2 separate regions of the Homo sapiens genome follow, and region 2 is linked to region 1. The links are contacts of gene promoters, found by promoter capture Hi-C in blood cells and fetal thymus (Javierre and others, 2016). All regions are on one chromosome and are shown on one strand. The core of a region is centred on a gene start or on the middle of the fragment in contact, and the rest is flanking DNA. Distances in the headings are between cores, read along the strand shown.

What was found. The method cuts DNA at HindIII sites, captures the fragments that hold promoters and counts their contacts. A CHiCAGO score of 5 or more calls a contact.
Region 2: a fragment that was not itself captured here is called in contact with the fragment with the promoter of ELAPOR2 in region 1 in 2 of 17 cell types (activated CD4 T cells and non-activated CD4 T cells); the score reaches 5.2 in activated CD4 T cells.

Annotation. Positions count from the first base shown.
Region 1 is chr7:87,058,016-87,062,078 of GRCh38, reverse strand. It overlaps ELAPOR2 (endosome-lysosome associated apoptosis and autophagy regulator family member 2), which reads left to right and starts at 2,425. Exons shown (of 22, transcript NM_001142749.3): 1 at 2,425-2,754. The coding sequence starts at 2,566. RefSeq lists silencers at 2,148-2,537, 2,628-2,697 and an enhancer at 2,963-3,463. The HindIII fragment of the contact is 3,663 bases long and covers 580-4,063 here.
Region 2 is chr7:87,340,309-87,343,719 of GRCh38, reverse strand. TP53TG1 (TP53 target 1) reads left to right here. Exons shown (of 3, transcript NR_015381.1): 2 at 2,036-2,197. Among named protein-coding and RNA genes, the nearest start is that of TP53TG1, 3.5 kb to the left of the region's middle. RefSeq lists an enhancer at 1,878-1,947. The HindIII fragment of the contact is 2,210 bases long and covers 1,057-3,266 here.

The sequences.
Region 1 (4,063 bases), core at 1,176-3,675:
ATTTGCTATTACATCCTAAAATAACAGGTAGAAGAGGACCTTAGAGTCTTCTTGAAATTTCCTTTCTCTGTCAGCCTTTATGCTGATTTTAATTATCCAAGGTCAAGATCTTTTTTATGGATGGGACAACTATGAGAAAAGTATTTATTGAAAGTGGCAAGTTGTCCTACTCTGGAAAATCTACAATTGTCATTTGATCCAAGTGCATTGACTGGACGACTCTTATTTTTATAAGGAAAGAAGCTGTTTTCAATTTAATAGTCATGTTGTTAGTTCTTTCTCAGATGACAAAAATCATAACATAATTTGACTCCTAAAAATTCCACATGAATTAAAGAATAAAGCATATAAAAAGGAAATAATAACAAAATATAACAAAATAAGAAAACATAGGCATCTGTATGATTTTGCAGAGATACGTGTACTTCTAGATATAAAAAAGGAAGAAATCACAAAAGAAAATGTTGCTACATTTGAATACCTAAAGATGACAAGCTTCTGCCAGAAAAGCTATCAGAAGTAAATTTAAAAGACTACAAAAAAGTATTTGTAAGATATATGATAAACATACACAAAGCTTATGAAGATTGCTAACGAATCAATAAAAAATGGAACTTCAATAAAATGGCTAAAGTGTGCCAGTGAAAAATTCTCACACCCTGACATGAGAAGGAAAAATGCAAATAGCTAGTAGATATATATAAAAAATCACTCGATGTCACCAATGATAAAAATACATTTTAAAAATAATAGCTTTTGTCTCTTCTACCAAAATGATAAATATCTGAAGTATTATAATCTAGGGTGATGTGAAATAAATACTCATAAACTGCTGGTAACAATTGCTACAAATTTTTTGGAAGGAATTTGTACACTATTCGTCAAAAACTTTAAAAATACACATATCATGTGATCCAATGTTTTCACTTCTAGAAAGTTATCATAAAATATTTAAAGATGCACACAGATTATGTTCCAAGGGCATTCTTTCCAGAATTATTAATAACACTGAATCCTTAAACAATGCCTAATATCTAATAGTAAATTACATGTATCTAAAGAGTAGAAAATATTTTACAATTATTAAAGTTGTGTTGTTGGAGACTTTAATGACTTGAGAAAATATTTATGTTATTAAGAATAAAAATAAAAGCAGGTTACAAATTATTATTCCAGTTTTGCAGTACACACAGAGTTAAAAAAAAAAAAGCAAGGAAATTCCTCAACATGTTAATACCATTAACAATGTTATCTCTGGGTGGTAGGATCTCTAGTTATTTTTATATTCTTCCTGATACTTTTCAATATTTTCCAAAATGTTTACAAATAACATATATTGTTATAATCAGAATATAGGTGTGATACACAAATCTATATGTGTATACATACACACAAACACACATATACAGAGACTTTCATGTGGAAATTTTGTTAAAAGGATATTAGAGATAATGCCACAAACAAATGTGCCACAGGCCAACTTATAATGAGTGGGCCACGTGGATTTGTCCAGATATTCAATAATCAGAAATTTGGATGCTTCTTTTGAAAAACACAATAACTCACCCATTTACAGAATCTGAGATCAAGAAGGGATCTTGAGATCCTTGCCACTGAGGAAGGCCTTATGTCCATCTTGTTCACCATCACCTAGTTCAGTATGTTTTTGAATGAAAGAAAAAACGAAGAGCACCTCAATCATCGCACAGATGGAGAAACTGTTTCCTCCAGAAAACACAGGGCTTAATGCCCAATGTTACACATCTCCACAAAATAACACCAATAGCAGCAATAATTATGGCTACTACTACCAACACATGTCACCTACTGTGTGCCAGGCACTCTTCCAAGTGCTTTATGTACATCAACTTACTTAATCCTCATAATAATCCTACGTGGTGGGTATTATTTTCATTAAATAGGTGAGAAAACTGAGTCACACACCACGTCTACACCTCAGTCCTCTTTCTTCCCCGCCATTTCATGCACACCCTAACTAGAAATTCGATCTGACGCTAGCCAGCATGGATCCTTACAAGGGATGTTCCGAGGGCACATCTGCGTGTTTGTGTGCAATGAGGAAAGTGGCGAGCTTTTTAAAGACCCACCGCCAGAAAACAATGTCCTGATGTCCTGTATTTACTCTGGCTTCATCCCGGGAGCGCCCCTCCCAGTGGGCCACGGGGACCTGAGACAGGCTACTCCACGGGGTCCCCAGCCTCTCTCGCCCTCTAGCGCGAGGCGAGCGCCGCGCAGCCCCTGGGGACCCGCCGGGCTGGGCCGCAGCCCCCGCCCGCGCCACCTGCTCCCCAGCTCCAGCGTCCCCGCCCCGCGTCCCGCCCCCGCGCCGCGCCCGCGCCCCGCGGTCCCTCCCTCCGGCGTGACGGGAGCATCGGCGCTGGCTGCCCGGGCCGCGAGCGCAGCAGAGCTGTCAGCGGGCGGACGGGCAGCGGGTGACGGAGCGGCGAGACGAGCGCACAGCAGTCGCGGCCCGGGAGCCGGAGCTGCCGCCGCACCCCGGGAAGGCTGCCTTGCCGCCGGCCCGCCGACCGCGGCCGGACGAAGATGCTGTTCCGCGCCCGGGGGCCGGTACGGGGCAGGGGCTGGGGGCGGCCGGCGGAGGCTCCCCGCCGCGGGCGCTCGCCGCCCTGGAGCCCCGCCTGGATTTGCTGCTGGGCGCTCGCCGGCTGCCAGGCGGCCTGGGCTGGGGACCTGCCCTCCTCCTCCAGCCGCCCGCTTCCTCCTTGCCAGGAGGTGAGCAGCACCTGGTCCTCTACCTGGAGTTTGCTGGGGGAGGGCGCGGAAGATGAAGGCTGAGAGCGGTTCCTGTTTATTTCTGTTTGCCATCCCCTTTTCCTTTGCTTGGAGAACAGGGGCTTTCGTTTGCTTCGAGGGGTGAAGTTGCCCGCCCTGGTAGCTGGCCCGGAGAGGGTGTGTGGCTTCGCTGTCTCTCGGGGGATGCTTTTCTGTCCGCGCTTGTGTCTTTTGGGGGCTCTGCAGGACTTTGCGGCGTCCTTTTTGGACAGCCAGGTTTGAGGACCTGGGGTCGAGGGAAAGATTTCAGGAAGGGGAGGAGACTGGGGAAGCCCCACCAGTGGGATTTGAAGAACCATCTCATCACAGCTTTTCCAGAGAGCCAGACACAGACACCAGAGGATTTCCCGCTCCTCCTCCCCCTGTCTCCACTCCCCTGTCTCTGCAAACGCCTTCGTCCTACTCCCCTGCCCTCAGCTTCCTGATTAAGGCCCTGTGGGTTTGCTAAGCCAATGTATGGTGTCACTTAGCATCCTTCTGACAAAATGTGGATTTGAATTTGGGGGGGAAAAAAAAGGAGTATGTACTTGGTAGAGAAGATGCAGGTTGATGATGGAGAAAATTAGAAAAGACAGTGAATATGCTTCTTTTGGGAGGTGCTTTATCACCTGGCTGAAGTATTGCCGCGGTGTATTTTATAGCTTGTAATCATTGTTGTTTTACAGCCAAAAAGGATAAACTATGGGAGATGAGATTTTTATCTGGCTTTTAGAAGAACGAGACAGTGTGCCAAAAATTTACAGGGGGTGTCATTGGTTCTTGTATTGGGTGTTTATCTTTCCATTTAGTGTTCAGAAAGTGCATCCTCTTAATGAAAATCAATGAGGGGAAGGAAGCAACATTTCTGACCTACTTTGATTGTGTTGGGAGGATATATGGAATAGATACTGTTTTTAGGAAGATTGTTAGGAATCAGGGCGATGGGTCGTTTTAATTAATGTAGCAAAAATAGGTTAGCCAATAGCCCCTCTGGGAAGAAAGGCCAGACCCTCTTGTTTGTGTATGTTGCTCTAACTTCTGAATTTTACCGAGACTTGAATTACAGAGTATCTGTGTTCTACACATCATCCATCATCTATGGATTTTCGTCTTTCTCTCCTACAGTACAGGTCCCAGGACAGACTGAAATGAAAGAGAATCGGATCAAAGGCTTGTGTGCGAACACACAGCAATGTTGTAATTGGGGAAATCAGGGCAAGAGCTCAACAAACAGCTGTGTTTAATTTTAGGGCTTTTTAGTATAATGAGC
Region 2 (3,411 bases), core at 912-3,411, 280 kb before region 1:
TTAAAAAAATCTTTTATTTTTGTTCTTCTGTAGTTCTTACTCAGCATACCACAAATTGCAAAAGACTTTATAGATAAGTCTAGATAAATTTCACCATTAAAAAGTATTAAAATGCTAGACTAAGAAGTTCATGTTTCAATCTGCATAACTGGCTTCCTGCTAAGATTTGTGACTCTAATAAGTAAGGAGATATGGTAAATAGCCCTAATCTATGGGAGACCTGTAACCTCCTTTCATTCTGATGTATAAAATGAACATGTTGAAGAAATAATTTTGTGATGTTTCTTCTTTTTAATGGGGGGGCAGTAGAAATATGGTCATTTTGGGAAGCAGCCAACAGCAAATTAAAGTACACTGGACGCAAAGAGGGCAATGTAGCATTAAAAATGAACTCCACTGCCAACAGCAGATGAACAGTGTTTGATACAAAAGGTCTCTTTTTAGTACTAATCATTGATTTGGGGTTGCTTTTGATGATATTTACAGTACATGAAAAGTTGCCACCAAAATCTGAGGGGAAGAGTTAAGATAACTATGATGTTTTTGCATCTCAGAAAAAAATACCTTCTTACTAAACAAAATATAACATTTAAAAATTTTGTTAACATCTTTGTTGAAATATAATTTACATACCATAAAGTTCGGCCATTTAAAGTCCACAAATCAATGGTTTTACTATATTCACAGGGTTATGCAGTCACCATAAGCTAATTTTAGAACATTTGGTTCAAATATTTAAAAAGATTATTTTCTACATACTCAAATCTCTGTTCCACTCATTTTTTTCAGTCCCACAACTTTTTCTATATCCAAAAATCCAGGCATCTTTACAGGAACATTTTGTTTCCATTGAAATAAATAACAAGACTGGGAAAAGAGTGAAGCAAAGTGGCTCTAAATTCTGTGTTACCAACAGGCATTAAACATGATTCATCAACTGACTGATGAATGTATGAACCACTTTTTGTTTGTCCATTCATCAGTTCATGGACATTTGGGTTGTTTCTACCTTTTGTCTATTTAAATAATGGTACTATAAACATTTGTGTACAAGCTTTGTGTGAACAGGCTTTCAATTAGTATTTTAGGAGTGGAGTTGTGGGGTCGTATGTTAACTCTATGTTTAACATTTTCAAAAACCGTCAAACTGATTTCCAAAGGAACTGTACCGTTTTTACATATCTGCCAGCAATATGAGTTTCAATTTCTCTGTGCCTTTAGTTACAATAACAATATAACAGCCCTTGCTATTGTCTTTTAAAAAAAATACAGCCACTCTAATGAATGTGAAGTGGTGTCTTGTGGTTTTGATTTACATTTTTTTGTGAAGACTAAGAGTGTTGAGTATTTTTTCATGTGCTTATTGGCCATTTATATATCCTCTTTGGAGAAATGTTTATTAAGATCCTTTTCCCATTTTTTAATTAATGCACACATTTTAAAATTATATTAAAATTAGGCAATGGTCTGACCATAAAAAGGCTGCTTATGGAATACTGTTATGTTAAACTTCACTTACAGGATGCTAAATCCTTAGAACTGAGGTTTTCCCCAGAAAAAGATTAATGGAAACATCAGTTGCTTTTCAGACTTGATTCTGCTTCAAAAGATGATTTTACACAAATAATTTTAAAAAACTTTAGTACACAACGAATCACTTTTAGTTTGGTATGCATCCACATTTCAGCATTTAGTAGTGGTCCTGAACAGAAAGTGAAAAACACAGCAATTTTTCCAGGAGGTCAAGTCTGCCAATTTCAGGGATCTGCTGTGTACCCCAATTTCTTTCTTAATCCCTGCTGAGGATCTTGAGAAGCAGGAGCAGCACCAAAACCAAGGCATGCACTGGATCCAAGGTTCTTTTTGTTCCAGTTGTGAGATTCCAAACTAGACCCCAGTGGATTGCAAGGATGACCAAATGAGAGCCCTGCTTAAAACTTCTTCAATTTTTAAAAGCGAAAGCAATTACAAGAAAATGAAACAATGCAGAGGGATCATATGTGCTTTCAAGTGTCTTCATGTGCTCTTTCTCCAGGTTTAACCACCAAGGACTCTGAGAGCTGGCAGGTCTGAGTAACCCTGGTAACAATTCTCTTCACCTTATCAAAACCTGAGCTAAAACCAATGCATCAGCTGATGATGACAGCAGAGAGTGGCAGGGCTGAGGACCCAAAGTCATTTCCCAGGCTGGCGGAGAGTGAGTAAATGAGATTCTAAAACTAAACAAGGGAGGTCAGAGACTCTTTCCAACCTTACCTGATGGCTTCTGGCCAAAGCAAGGAAGTGTCTTGGAAGGTGTTGGTTGGTGATGGTGCGAAAAGACACTTGAGAAGGAGGGAAGAAAAAGCAGCGCCCCTTGATAAAGGTGGGGGAGAGAAGATATGGGGAAAGCCCTGAATTCCTCATCAAAGGCCAATCTCAGAGAGTAGCAGGGGGTTACAATCTATGCTTTGGCCAAGGGCGGGAGTGGAGGAGTGGGGGTTAGGATGATGGCTTGGAGCGGGCATCATTTAAGACTTAAAGAAACCATGGGTGCAGGCAAAGCACCCCACACACTAAGCAGTAGTCCCACAGGCTGCGACCTGAAACCTTCACATCTACTCTTAACAAGCCCCCATGGCTAGAGGGCTGTTGCAAGGGGAGAAGGCAGAGACCCCAGACCATGTAATCAACAGCAAGGTGATTGTGTGATGTGTCTTTTCCCATATTTAGGAGGGTGAGTTTTATGAATGACTTTAAATATTATGCACTTAATGGTTATGTTTATTACTTCGTACAAAATATTTCTGAGGCCAGGCACAGTGGCTTATGCCTGTAATCCCAGCACTTTGGGAGCCCAAGGTGGGTGGATCGCTTGAGCCCAGGAATTCGAGACCAGCCTGGGCAACATGGCAAAACCTTGTCTCTGCAAAAAATTTTTTAAAAATTAGCCTGGTATGGTGGTGCACACCAGTAGCCCAGCTATTTGGAAGGCTGATGTGGGAGGGTCACTTGAGCCTAGGAGGTCAAGGCTGCAGCAAGCCATGATCATGCCACTGCACTCCCACCTGGGTGACAGAGTGAAACTCAGTCTCAAAAATAATAGTAATGTTTGAGGAACCATTCAATTTAAGCAGGTACTAAAGAAGAAATTAAGGGCTCTTCCTTACTGAAAGTTTTTCCCTGAGAAATAGGAACTTGGCAACTTTATGCAAAACTTCAAATGACTTATTATTAGGTCAATAAAAATAAAATAATGTTGAAGCGCTAAGATTGTTAAAGAAGCTTAAAGATATTGTTATATTAGTGTTTACACAATAATGTGTCAACTTTTATTCAGCATTATCTCCTTGCTTTTTGAGGCAAATATATTTTGTATAAAGTTTTGAGAATGTCTGAGGTGTTTCCTGTACCTCTTCTGGGCTCTCAGTC